Linked DNA regions of Homo sapiens: all the other regions are linked to region 2. Evidence: promoter capture Hi-C in 16 types of primary human blood cells and fetal thymus (Javierre and others, 2016). All regions are on one chromosome and are shown on one strand. The core of a region is centred on a gene start or on the middle of the fragment in contact, and the rest is flanking DNA. Distances in the headings are between cores, read along the strand shown. Region 1 holds the start of LOC105375557 (a long non-coding RNA gene). Region 2 holds the start of ZNF425 (zinc finger protein 425). Region 3 holds the start of ZNF777 (zinc finger protein 777). Region 4 has its middle 8.4 kb from the start of TRC-GCA11-1.

The links. Contacts are between HindIII fragments. The CHiCAGO score rates a contact against its expected background, and 5 or more counts as called.
Region 1: a contact is called between a fragment that was not itself captured here and the fragment with the promoter of ZNF425 in region 2, in 1 of 17 cell types (activated CD4 T cells). The highest score is 6.1, in activated CD4 T cells.
Region 3: a contact is called between the fragment with the promoter of ZNF777 here and the fragment with the promoter of ZNF425 in region 2, in 2 of 17 cell types (neutrophils and naive CD8 T cells). The highest score is 6.3, in neutrophils.
Region 4: a fragment that was not itself captured here is called in contact with the fragment with the promoter of ZNF425 in region 2 in 3 of 17 cell types (non-activated CD4 T cells, naive CD8 T cells and fetal thymus); the score reaches 5.5 in non-activated CD4 T cells.

Annotation. Positions count from the first base shown.
Region 1 is chr7:148,623,009-148,626,176 of GRCh38, reverse strand. It overlaps LOC105375557 (a long non-coding RNA gene), which reads left to right and starts at 737. Exons shown (of 3, transcript XR_001745397.2): 1 at 737-818; 2 at 1,342-1,496; 3 at 1,621-1,837. The HindIII fragment of the contact is 676 bases long and covers 1,473-2,148 here.
Region 2 is chr7:149,125,039-149,128,116 of GRCh38, reverse strand. ZNF425 (zinc finger protein 425) reads left to right here and starts at 1,793. Exons shown (of 4, transcript NM_001001661.3): 1 at 1,793-1,921. The coding sequence starts at 1,904. It also overlaps the pseudogene RN7SL521P and a transcript of ZNF398 not described here. RefSeq lists enhancers at 814-863, 1,527-2,078, 2,079-2,630, 2,878-3,078 and silencers at 1,024-1,463, 2,195-2,368. The HindIII fragment of the contact is 7,753 bases long and covers 1-3,005 here.
Region 3 is chr7:149,459,361-149,462,639 of GRCh38, reverse strand. It overlaps ZNF777 (zinc finger protein 777), which reads left to right and starts at 1,578. Exons shown (of 6, transcript NM_015694.3): 1 at 1,578-1,825. RefSeq lists silencers at 1,598-1,937, 2,108-2,177, 2,468-2,547, 2,558-2,917. The HindIII fragment of the contact is 6,109 bases long and covers 1-3,279 here.
Region 4 is chr7:149,421,880-149,425,341 of GRCh38, reverse strand. No RefSeq gene overlaps it. Among named protein-coding and RNA genes, the nearest start is that of TRC-GCA11-1, 8.4 kb to the right of the region's middle. RefSeq lists a silencer at 2,674-2,923 and an enhancer at 3,055-3,462. The HindIII fragment of the contact is 2,318 bases long and covers 1,004-3,321 here.

The sequences.
Region 1 (3,168 bases), core at 561-3,060, 500 kb after region 2:
TGTGAATTTTATTGTTAGGCTAGGGGTTCACTTAACAAGCCTGTGTAAGGATCACCTGACTCTCTTGGAGAATACAATTTAACTTCCTATTGGCTAATGAATAGGGCCCAGGCATTTTTGCAACAAAAGTTAGATGTTAATATGTAGTAAATTGTTACAATAAAAATTATTTTTGTCTAATAATAATGCCAATTATTTCTGTTCATTAGAGAAAAAACCCTAAAGATTATAGTTTATTGCTCTGTAGAACAATGATGAGTTTTAGTATTTAATAATTTTATTCTAGCCTTCTCTTTGATGGGAAATATGTACATTCGTTTCTTGCATCTGCCTTTGAATCATTTTGTCATTCTGTTTGTTCCCTCATTAGCGAGCTGAAAATAACCTTGACATATGCTCTTATGTATATGTGTTGTTTTAACATTTTGAAAATTCTACTTTTAACAGTACTCAAGATCAGACCATGCTACTGCTTTCACTCCCTGCAGATGGTCATATTTTTGAGGCCTTCATTCATTTAATTGTCTTTTTTGTGTTATCTCTAAATTCTCCATGGCTCTGGACAGTAATTAAACATAAAGGAGAGAAGTTCTCCCGCCAGCTGTCCTGCGTCACTCCTTCAGTTCTCAGCTTAGATTTCCTGTCCTTGGGAAGCTGTCATCATCCTTCTATCTTTACACCCCATGATTTACCCCTTGCAGTGTACTTATTACACTGTATTGGAATCGCTTCTTTTCTCTTTCTCTGTGAATTTCTTGAGAGCACAGACTACATTCTGCTTAACTTTTTATCCCCAGCTTTCAGCACAGTGCCTGGCTGTAAGTACTCAATAAATATTTTGAATGAATACTTTATGGGCTAAATGTTACATCAGTCTTATTTTGTGTGTTCAAGGGTGCTAAATAATAGTCACATATAATTTATTGTTCTAACAATAGCAATGGCAATCTTTAGCTTGTGTGCTCCTTGTAGACCTTCCTTTTGGGGATTGTAGTGGTGGTGCATTTTTGCATAACCAAGTCTTCATCTTATATTAGTTGTTTTGGTCCCTTCCATAATATTTTCAGAATACTGCTCCTTTAAGACTGGTGAAAGCCTGCTGGTGGAGGAAGAGGTCCTGCCACTGAACAAAGTGTCTGTGTAGATTTAGCTACACCCATTTGATGTGCTTCTTAGTCTCGTTTAACTTGCCGATTCATATATCCCTGTCTCATTTGTTCTTAGATTTGTCACGAAGCCTCTGGTTTTTGGCTTGTCCTGGTTTGAACTTGGTGTATCTGGCTCTTGACTCATTTTCTGACCTCAGACCATCCTTAAATCTGCTTTTCTACTTTGTACCAGGCTTTGGCGTCTCCAAGTACCTGACCTCAGCTCAACCTGTCTTGGGTTTTCTTCTCCTCCCTGACATTGACAACCCAGCCCTCCTAGGCACAGAGAGATGGAGCTGAGTGTGGTTTTCCTGAAATAAAGCTTGCATTATGAGAGGGAATAAACAGGTACATAGTGTTTTAGACGGCAGCATTTTAACTTCATGTAGGCATTGTTTTCATGACAATTTTCTTTTGTTTCTCCTTTTGTTATGAAATATGCATTTCGCCAATATTAAATGGAATATTCCAGAAGAAAAAAATAGTAAGTAAAATCTTGCTTGCCTCTCAGTAAAATAAAGCTCTATTTTTCGTTTTTTTTTTTTCCAACTTCCTGTACAAAAAAGGGAAAACTTTAGCTTTTGGGGGAAATTTGGAGCTAGCCTGTTGGTACTGTTGAGCTTAGTGTATCTATAACTATATATTATTCCACAATATCTTAAATACTTTATAAAGATATTTTCATAAATTACAGCAATCCTGGCTTTAGATGATTGATGGCCATTTTTAAACAATTAAAGCTAATTTCTAGCTTTTTATGAGTTTGGTATTAAGCACAGTAGTTTCTTAGAAAGTCTCCAGGGAATGCATTTTGCAAAATAAAAATCAGCTAATGACCCAGGAAAGCCTCTTCATGCTTGTTTACAACTTTTTAAAGTGGCTCTTTTCAAACGTCAGGGTTTTTTTTTTCTCAGTCACTAGATGAAAAATTATAGAAACCATCACATCCAGTCAATTGGTTGCTGTAATTCCAAAAGATTTAGACAAAGTGAAGAAAGCTTACCCACTGGAGGGCATGTAATGTCACCGGCATGTGACGAGATGTGCATATTTGTGGTGGACCGGGTGCTTGATGTGAGAAGTGCTGGCAATGAGGAGTCAGCCTGGCCCAAATAACCACAAAAAAGAACAGATTTCAGACAGGCCGTTTTACAGTTTCCCACTTGTTCTTTTGCCAACTTCCAGCCACTTCTTTCTCTAGCACTGATCAAACAAAACAAACGATCATTCTGGAAAAGTTCTGAAAATATAGGTCACTTGTTTCTTTTTGTTATCTTTAATCTGCTGTGTATCGACTTACCTTTCCACACTGATCCACTCAATTTACGTTTAAATAAAGTTTTCAAATTAACTGCATGCTAAAAAAATAAGCTAATTAGGGGGATGAAGGCTGTTAAAACATGTGTTGTCTTTTCTTCATTGCGATAAAGATCGAGGTGACCAGCATTTTTTTTTTTTTTTGAAACAGAGACTCACTTTGTCACCCAGGCTGGAGTGCAGTGGTGCCATCTCGGCTCACTGCAACCTCCACCTCCCAGGTTCAAGTGATTCTCCTGCCTCAGCCTCCTGAGTAGCTGGGATTACAGGCTGCGCACCACCAAGCCTGGCTAATTTTTGTATTTTTTTGGTAGAGACAGGGTTTCACTGTGTTGGCCAGGCTGGGGGGTGACCAGCTTTTACAAACAGCCTGTAAAATGTTTTTCATTGTAGCCACAGCCAGTTCTGATATTGTCCTGAAACCGCTCAATATGTAGCACACCTGCCATAAATTTTTTTAACTTGATTTTTATTAGAAAATCCTGATTCACATTCACTAGAATAAAAAAGAATCTGGAGAGAGTGTTTCAGTCTTCTTTCTTATTGATTTATTTCTCTCCCACATGGCTGTATTTTCACAGCGGCACCATCTGTCAATTAAGCAACGGCTCTGCGTAAGCAGTAAAACCAGAGGGTGTGCTTTGCCACAGGGGCGAGCTTGTTTGTTGAGGGATACAGGCTTTTGGAGAAGTAGCTTCTCATT
Region 2 (3,078 bases), core at 544-3,043:
TTCCTCACTCATATTTGGCTCAGAATAAACTTCTAAATATTTTACAGTTTGACTCTTCGTAAACATGGATGAATCACAAAAGCATTACGCTTTTGAGGAGCCAGTCACAAAAGGTTATATCATACTGTATGATTCCATTTATATACCATTTCTAAAAAGAGAAAACTAGGTTTCAAGAGCAGATCAGTCCTTGCCAAGGATCCAGGTGTCGGAGGGAGTGACCATAAAGCAAATGAAGCACAGAAGAGAATGGCAGCACAAGGAGTTTCAGGGTGGGACAGGGCTCTTCCGTATCCTGGTTACAGTGGTTACTACACGTATACATACATATGTGAAAATTCATAGAACTTTACACCCAAAGAAACGTTAGTTTTTTTGTTTGTTTGTTTTTGGTTTTTTTGAGATGGAGTCTCCCTCTGTCGCCCAGGCTGGAGTGCAGTGGCGCGATCTCGGCTCACTGCAAGCTCCGCCTCCCGGGTTCACGCCACTCTCCCGACTCAGCCTCCCTAGGAGCTGGGACTACAGGCGCCCGCCACAACGCTCGGCTATTTTTTTTTTTTTTTTTTTTGTATTTTTAGTAGAGACGGGGTTTCGCCGTTAGCCAGGATGGTCTCGCTCTCCTGACCTCGTGATCCGCCCGCCTCCGCCTCCCAAAGTGCTGGGATTACAGGCGTGAGGCACCGCGCCCATCCGAAACGTTAGTTTTAATGTAAGGTTTTTTTTTTTTAACCCTTTAATCAGTAAGGTGCATCTACATTTCACGATTCCGGGACAAATACAGATGTGCACACGCTCCTCAGCCTATGCAGGGACTACTTTCTCATGGACATCCTTTCTAACTACACACTTTTCATTTGTTACTTTAGCCTGACACCTAAAACATGACTAGGACAGAATGCGAGGTTGATTTTCTGGGGACAGTCGCCACCCCCTTCCTTGCCCTCTCTCTCCTTTCTGTCTCTCCCTGGTTTCCCCTTCTGCGTCTTCCCACCTCTCCCGTTTTTGCGTCTTCGTGTTTCTCACGCCCTGTGTCATGGCCTCCTCCGTCTTCTCCCGCTCTGTCACAGTCTCCCGCCGGGGGCTAGGGGTGCCCGGCCCGCATCCCTGGGCGACCCTGAGTCCCCGCAGGCGGCCCCGAGGCCGGGGTGGCTTCCGCATGGGGTCTCTGCCCGAGGCCTTTCTCTGCCAAGGAGGGAGTGTGGACGCTCGGGGAGCCCAGAAGGGCGCTGCACCCACGGGGACCGGACGTGGTGGGCGGACCCCTCCTCCGCGTCCCCGACGGGACATGCCCGGGGCCCACACGGCCTCCGCGCCCCCGGCGGGACGGACACCCCGGGCCACCGCGCGCCCCCCACCACCTACCCGGCCTCGCTGGATTCCCGGGACCCCCTCACAAACGAAACCCTCGAGCTCATCCCTGACTTGGGGGCAGCTTTGGAAGGAACAGCACCGGACTCTCACCCTCTCGCTGCCTCTCAGTCCGGGTTTCTGTGGAGCGCGTCTCCCAGTCGCTGTCCCTACTCTCTCCCTGTTCCTGCTCTCTCCATGTTCACCTGCCCCTCCGTTTCCCCTCCCGTCAGCTCCCTCATCTCGTCTTCGACCGCATCCCTCGCATGCAGATCCGGGAGTCCAAGGGTCCCTCAAAGACCGGCGTGCTGCGGCCCGCACGGAGGGTGCCCGGGCCCCTCCTCTGAGGACCGACTCCCTCTGGCGGCGCCGCTCCTCCCGCCCGCAGGGGGCGCTATGGGGCGGAGCGGCTTCCGCTTCCGAGCGCCGAGTCCCAGCATGCACCGCGCCCGGCCGGCTCTGCCTTTGGGGGCCAGCAGGGCTGTACCTGGGAGTTGGGTTGGGGCGGAGCGGAGGGGAGGCCGTGCCAGGCAGGGCCGGTTCGTGCGGAACCGCCATGGCCGAGCCGGCTTCGGTAAGAAGGGCCGGTGGAGGATGCAGGCTCTGTCGAAACTCGGGTCCCTGTCGCAGCTGGATTGGGGTCCGCGTCCAGGGAGTGGGGCGGCCGGGGCCTGGGCCTGGGGGTTGGCAGTGGCCCACGGACTGAGCTCCGGGCTGGGCTGGAGAAGGTGCAGTCTTGCTGCGTGTGCTGTTCTGGAATTGACCTGGGGAAAAGCTGGTCTGGCCGGGCTTGGCCGCGCGCGTCTGTGGCCCCGGCCACTCGGAAGGCTGAGGCGGGAGCAGCGCTTGAGCCCGGGAGCTCTGCGCTGTATATGCGCTAGGTCCGTCGCGCGGTGCCTCTGAGTTCTGCATCTGTGTGGTGACCTCTCGGGAGCGGGGACCACCAGGTTCCCCAGGGAGGGGGAACCGGCCCAGCTCGGAAACCGAGCAGGGCAAAACCCCAGTGCTGATCGTTAGTGGGATCGCGCCTGTGAATAGCCACTGCCCTCCAGCCTGGGCAACAGCCAGACCCCGTCTGTTTAATACATAAATAAAAGTTGGTTTGGGAGAAAGAATCCGGGTGGGAAAGATCTGTTTCTCGGCCTGTTGTAGGCTCAGATCAACAACGCTGTCCCTGCCTTCAGTGTCGGGGCTCTGAACCTCGGGGTCTCTCTGGGGCCCGTGCTCTCCTGCTGAAGGTAGTTTCAGAGAAGCACATCAGTGTTAAGCAGATGAGAAAAAGGAGAAGGAAAGCTGGAACTGAGAGAAATTGGAGACCGCTCCCTCTAGGAAAGGACAGAAAACTTAAAATGAATTGGGTGGTTAGCGTAAATCGAATTTACCGTAAATGCTGTAGTATTGTAATGTAGTATTGAAAATTTGAGCACCGGTTTTAGAGTTTGAAAGGCGTATCCTGAGGCTTAATCCAAGAAACCCTGTTACATTCAGTTAAGTATAACTTGCTTAAGTGTGCAAGTTTTTCTTGTGCCCCCAATGAAATTTTATAATCTTAGGAATGTAATGCTCCTTATTTGCATTTGATTCTTCCCTTTTGCTTCCCACTCCTTTTCCCCACCCTCCTTTGGCAGGTACAGATTCTTTTCTGATTTCTCCAAGCTTTGTTTCTACAGCCAGGCTTTCTTTTTTTCTCTCCTCTTTAAGTGATTGGGAATCTCCTGGAATATTCCTCTC
Region 3 (3,279 bases), core at 329-2,828, 330 kb before region 2:
ATCTCACAACAGAAACATTGGCAAATGATATGAAGAGGAAATTCACAGAGGAAGAAACCAAATGTCAGTAAACATGAAAAGATGTCCAACTTCATTAATCAGGGAAATACAAATACAAATTAAAATAATGAGCTACCATTTCACAGTCATCATGTCGGCAAACGTTCTGAGTCCATTATCAGTAAGTATGAGCCAGGATGGGGAAAGAGAAAATCACACGATAGTGGGTGTGTAAGTAGGCACCATCCCTTCAGTGAGCAGTTCGGGAAGCCGGGGAAAGATGAAGGTGCTCTTGCCATCCAGAGTCCCATGTCTAGGCGTCTCTAGAGACGCACTTTAGCAGTGCACAATGAGACATGCATGCAGATGTCGCTGGCAGCAGGTTTGTTCTCATTCCTCTAGGGGGAATGGAACGTAAACTGTAGTTTATGTATTCAATGAAATACTATATTGTGGGTAAAATGAATGAACCAGATATTCTTGTTTAAACATGTCTGTATCTCAAAAACAAAATGACCCATGGAAAAAAGCAAGTTGCAACAGGATAGGGACTGGATAATATCATTCACATAAAATGTAAAAATACCAAAACCAGTAGTGTGCATTGTTTACGAATGCACACATGTTAGTTAATGCATAAAGACCTGGGTGAGAACTCTAGCCTCCGGGAAGGGAGGGGACAGGATGCATAGCTCTGGCCTTACCTCTATCTGTAACTTTCCTTTTTTTTGTTTTTTGAGACGGAGTCTTGATCTGTCCCCTAGGCTGGAGTGCAGTGGGGCGATCTCGGCTCACTGCAACCTCTGCCTCCCGGGTTCAAGAGATTCTCCTGCCTCAGCCTCCCAAGTAGCTGGGACTACAGGGCCGCGCCACCACGTCCAGCTAATTTTGGTATTTTTAGTAGAGACAGGGTTTCATCACGTTAGCCAGGTTGGTCTCGATCTCTTGACCTCGTGATCTGCCCACCTCAGCCTCCCAAAGTGCTGGGATTACAGGCATGAGCCACCACGTCTGGCCATAACTTTCCATTATCTGAGCTGCCAGCATACTGAGTCCTGTTGCCTTCCAAGACCAGCTCCACTCCTGGGGTTCCATTAGGTAAACACAATGTCCTCTGCTCCCCCCCGCCGTCTTCCCTCACTTAAGTTAGTTCCAGTTGGGCTTCATCGCTAGTAACCAGGACGCCTGCCTATAGTTTCTTCTTTTTTTTTCCTTTTCAATTCATCCCCAGTTCTCGCCACCTCGTAGGTATTCAATTAATACATGTTTAAGTGGACCTGTCCAGGAAGGGGAGTTCTCAACTCTAAGCTCCTGCATTTCTTTTGGGACTTCTCATGGTTACAAAGAGCATTCATTCATACTGTGACTGAGGGTAAACAAGTCGCTGCCCACTCGGCCTCAGTTTCCTCCTAAATGACCCGTCTGGCCACTTCCAGCCCCAGCAGGGTCTGATTCTAGGAATTCGGTCCTTTCATGTCGAAAACAACACTCGGGCATTTCACAAAAGCACCCAACCCCCTGGCTCCCCTTGGAAGCACAGCCCGCGTCCCTGGAACCCGGGCTGCACTGAGCTGGTCACATGAACTCCGGGCTTTCTCTGGTGTGACGGGTTTCTTAGATCCCTTTGTGAGCGCAGGTTTTGAAAGGGAACGACCCCGGGTTCTGGGTGTGAGAGGCGCAGGGGATCGGCGGGAGGAAGGCTGTCGGAGCCAATCAAGCCGCCTCCAGACCCCAGCACGTCGCCTGGGCTGCGCGCTCCGACTGCGCCTCCGCCCGCGCGCCTCCCGGCCTCGCCCGAGGGTGCCTGGGCAGGCGAGGACCCCAGGTGAGAGGCCGGAGGGTCCTGGAGGGTGGGAGGCCCCGGCGGTTCGGCCCGGGCTCCACGACGGGCTGGCCCGGGCTCAGGGCGTGTCCGTCGCCGCCGGGCGGCTCGCTCGACACTGTTCGCTCCTACCGGCTGTAGATGGAGCTGTCTGGGTTCCGGCAGCCTCCGACGAGCCTCGGAGTGTTTCTCTTTAAACGGCCTGAGAGGGACATGCCTCCCAGGATGCAGTTTGTAGCAACATGGCAGCTGCTGTGCAGCTCCCCTGCTAAAGAGGCGCCGGGACGGCAGCGCAGCTCGCAGCCGGGGCCGGGGCCGGAGCTGGGGTCCCAGCCGCGGCCGCAGAGGGGCGGCGCGCGGGCCGGGGGCCGCCGTTGAGGGCCGGGGCCCAGCTCGCCGCCGGGACGCAGCCGGCCGGGCCGCCCGCACAGCCGCGCGCCCAGCTCCGACGCCGCCGCTCGGGCTCCGCGACCCCGCGCCCGCTCGCCCCGCGCGCCCCGAGCAGGCCGGGGCCCGACGGCCGCGCGCGAGCCCCGGCGGGGAAGACAGGGCTGGGCCGGCGCCGCCTGCGGAGAGCGCCGGGCGGCCGGGCCTGCGTGGGGCCGCGCGCAGTAGCGGCGGCGGCAGTAGCGGCGGCGACTCCGGGGGCCCGGGCCGGACAGCGCAGGGCCATGGCCGAGGCGGCCCCGGCTCCTGTGAGGGCGGCCCGCGCGCGCACGGACGCGCGGCCTCGGGGCCCCGGGGACGGCCTGCGTGTCCCGGGCTCGGCGGCCCGGCCTGGGATCTCGGTAAGGGGCAGAAACGCTACGACGTTGGCGCGGGGGGTGGGGGCGCCCTGGAGGGGGCCCGCGCGTCTTGACCCGGGCGGTGGGGGAGGGCTACGGGCCTCGCCGCCGTCCGTGCGAGGGAGGCTGCTCTCACGCCCGGCCCGGCACACACGCGGCCCCGAGGTGGGGCGCCCGGAGGCGCGCTCGCTCCCTGCGGGGCCCGCGCTGCGTCCGTCGGGGTAGCCGCCGGCACGTTTTCCGCAGAGCTCGGCCCCGCGGAGCCTTCCCCGGCCCGGGCGCGGCGCTGACGCGGCTCTCCCATTTCGCAGAACGGAGACACTGAGGCACAGACACCTGGCGGCGACCCGCCCTGCCGGCCCCAAGGTCACGTAGCAAGGCATCCGTGGCACGGTGCGGCAGCCCCAGAAAGGCCTGCCCAGAGGGCTGCGGGCCTGGACGGGGAGGGGGTGGCTCTGGCGGCGGCCGCCCCTGGGTGAGGGGCTGGGCCGCCCTGGCAGCGGACGCGGCCCGTCGGGGGCGGCGGGGGAGGCCGGGCAGCGCCCAGCTGGGCATCTCCGCGGTGGGAGCAGGTGACCCTCTGAGCTCCAGCCTCTGCCTCCGGCCTCTGCGTCTGGAAGGTCGTAGGCTAAACTTTGAGTGCCCTGACAGATGGTGTCTGGGGAGTAAGCT
Region 4 (3,462 bases), core at 913-3,412, 300 kb before region 2:
TATACAAAAAAATTTCTGCTAGGTGTGGTGGTTCACACCTGTAATCCCAGCACTTCGGGAGGTCTAAGGAGGAGGATCGCTTGAGCCCAGGAGTTTGAGACCACCCTGAGCAACATAGTGAGAATCTGTCTCTTAAAAAAAATTCTGTATATATTTTTCGATTTGGATGATAGTCATCACTATAAATCACATTAATTTTGTCAAAAAGTAAAGACACTAAGTTGGTTCCCATAGTTACCCCCTGAACAATTTAATAATAATGACTGTCCAACTAAAATTTGTATTATTTCTTTCCCACTTTAACCCAGTGGTTCCTTACTGTGTCTTGAATTAATCAATGCCTTACCAAGCCAATTTATCCAGTGATGCATTCTGAAATAAGTTTGGGAAAAAAAAAAAACCTCAAATGTTTCAGAGTGCTGCTAAAAAAGCAAGTCAATATTCAGACCAATTTAAGCCAGTCTCTGGTGTGTTTAATTCATACAGTAGACAAATTGAGAGAAATAGACACATTTTCCTTGCCCAAATTGTTGCCAGCTCTTCAGAGTCTTGAAACAAACGTTAATTGCATACAAACATGCTTGGGTGTTCATTTTACCAAAAAGATGAACTCTTATTAGTATGTAGTAATCACATAACAGAATTCCAGAATCTTATTTAAAATTCTTTGCCCCCAAATGAAAATAGCGTTTTTTTCTGGTTGTAGAAGGAATTTCTATGTTCTAAACAATAAAAACTTACAATTGAATGAGTCCCTTATTTCTCCAAGAGAAGGTATCAAGTCTTTTCCATAACTATGGAAGAAATCAATTTTAACCACCCAGTATGAGGACTTCTAACCATCTCCACCTGTGAAATTACTTGGAAGAGTTCATCCCTTCTCTGTAGAACTAAATCTGTAATATATTTTAGAATCTCTTTCAGATTCAGGACATGAAATCTTTATCAAATTTATAATGGTCAGCCAAATTTTTTGCACTTCATCTGTCAGTGTTTTCAAGCTTTCGTTTGTAGCCTCCGGAATCCCTTGTTTAAATAAAACAATTTTCAGAAGCTAAATATGTAAAATAACTCGTGCCTTAAGAGGCTGGAGAGGGAGCCAAGCCTACCTGCTCTGGCGCCCCCGTCTTCCCAAACTCCCCCTGCGCTGAGGGGTCTCCAAGGAGGAAGCTCACTTCAAAAACCTCTGCCCTGGGCAAGTCACCAGGGCTCCTTTTCTCTTGCTTCAACCTTTCCTAGCCTCAATCCAAACTCTGTATGTTTAATTTATCCAGTGACACACTCCATGCTTACTTAATTCTTTGATAGAACAGTTTCTTAGTTTTATTTTTTTTCCTTGTGGGATATGCATGCTTTCCTATTCTCTATGCGTTACTTGGCAGATGTTCATATCAGAAAATGGTAAGTCTCTATAACCTTGCCAGTGAAATCCAGAGAGCTAACATCCACTGAGAATCCCTGGAAGGCCGGGGAAGATAGCAGGACAGATGTCTTAAGCCCTGTGAGAAAGCTACAAAGACGTCTCCCCCGCCCCAACCCCCATGTTATTTTTACAGCAAACGCTTCCACGGTGAAGGCAACGGGAGATTCAGGTGCAAGGTGCAGCCTAGCAAGACCCCTGGCCACACACGCATCACTGCGGGAGGTTGGAGGGTCCCCTCTACCGGGCTTTCCAGGGCTTGGCGCGTGCTCGGAGCGTGCACTCAGCGGCCATTGTGTGTTTGATTTTTCCCAAGGGCAGGGCCGGCTTTTGTTCATTTCGCGCTTGCTCCAGAGTCTGGCGCAAGGTCCTCAGAGGTCCTCAGTGCACGCGAAATGAACGGATGAACAAGCCACAGGTGACAATGTGCGGGAAGAAACACGGGTACAATCCCAAATCTCTGCCCAGCTGGGATGGAGATGATTTTCTTCATTAAACCTGATCCAACACCTTTAAACGCTATCACTTAAAAATGGATTTTATCATTCCTTCTGATATTTCAGCCCCAATATTAGGTAGAGTACCCGGATCACTGCCAAATCCTCTTACCACCGTTGCAGGTGGCTGGTGTGCGGCAGAAATCCTGCTCCACGGCCCTGCCCTTTGCAGCAAGGTCACCCAGCTGCCTGATAAGGAGTCCAGGGACGGGCAGCAAGCGGGACTGCGGGGAAAGCGCCGGGCACGCCGCGTGGCACCCGAGGCCCGCCCGCCCTTCCTGGCTGGGTATGAACACCAGCCGCGCCCGCGGGCGGCGACCCCGGGCTTCCTCTCGTTCAGGTCGCCTGGCGCGGCCGTGCCTTCCTGCTTCCCTACGGCAGCGGCACACCGGGACCTTGGGGAACCGGGAAGGGGCCCTTCCCCAAGCCAGGCCTCTGGCCCATCCAGGTCCCCTCGAGTCCCCCCAGCTCACCCAGAGCTCAGCGGGTCCCGTCCTCGGTCTCCCCGCCGGCCTCGCGGCTCCATTGCTGCCGCCCGAGAGGCCCTACGCGAGCTCCTAAAACCCTGCGCCCTCCATTTGGCGCCTGTGGGATGGGGCACAACCGTGTCGGTCTCACTGGTGCTGTGAGTGCAGCTGAGAGCCAATGGAGCAAGGACTTAACACAAACGATTATATTTTTATTTTAAAGATGTATTTATGCGTCTCTATCCATATTTTAAATATGCACATTTTCTCGATTACATTAATTTTGATGACTTGACTTTTAGACGTTCCTCTGCCTGGGCGTTTTTTCTCCCGTCTGATGAGAACGGGAGCGCGCTGCTGGGTGCCCGGCAGGGCGCGCCGGCGGCCCACGGGCTGCCTCCCGGGCCAGCGCCACGTCGGGCCGCGCGGGGCCGCGCGCTGCCCCCTGCCGGCCAGAGGCGAGGAGGCCCCGGAGGCCGCGGCGCCCTCACCTGGCCGCTGGCGGCCGCTCTAGGAATGCGCGCGGCCTTCTCGGTGGTGGCGGCCGCCTCGCGCCAGAGACCCGCTAGTCCCGACATCCGAGCCCCAGCCCCGCCTGCCAGCCGGCTGGCCCTTAGTCGCAGTGCGGGAGCCGCCCGGCCGCAGCCCCGAACCAGCCCTGGTTAGCAGGAGCCGCTGTCAGGTTGCTTTTCTTGCACACACTGGCCTGCCGGCCAAGGCCCCAGCAAATCCCCGTGCAAACACAGTTGGTGCAAACACAGTTAGTGCAAACAAAGGTGCGGCCGCAGGAATCTGAGAGCACAGGAAATATGAGACCTACCCCACCTCGAAGGCTCAACCCACGGCACAAAACAGCACAGAAGACCCGGAGGGCCTTGGGTCCCAGAAGGAGAGGGGACTCCGTGAATTGACCCCGAGCTTTAGGGTTGCTCAAGCTTCTTCCCGGGCAGCCTGCATTCTACCCACTTTTCTCGTTGTGCAGATGAGGAAACCAAGGCTGAGGCCCAGCTCCTGGCCGCTCGCTGTGTTTGTCCCATGCGGAGGTGGACCTGGAGGCGCTCTCTCATGATAGGCTGCA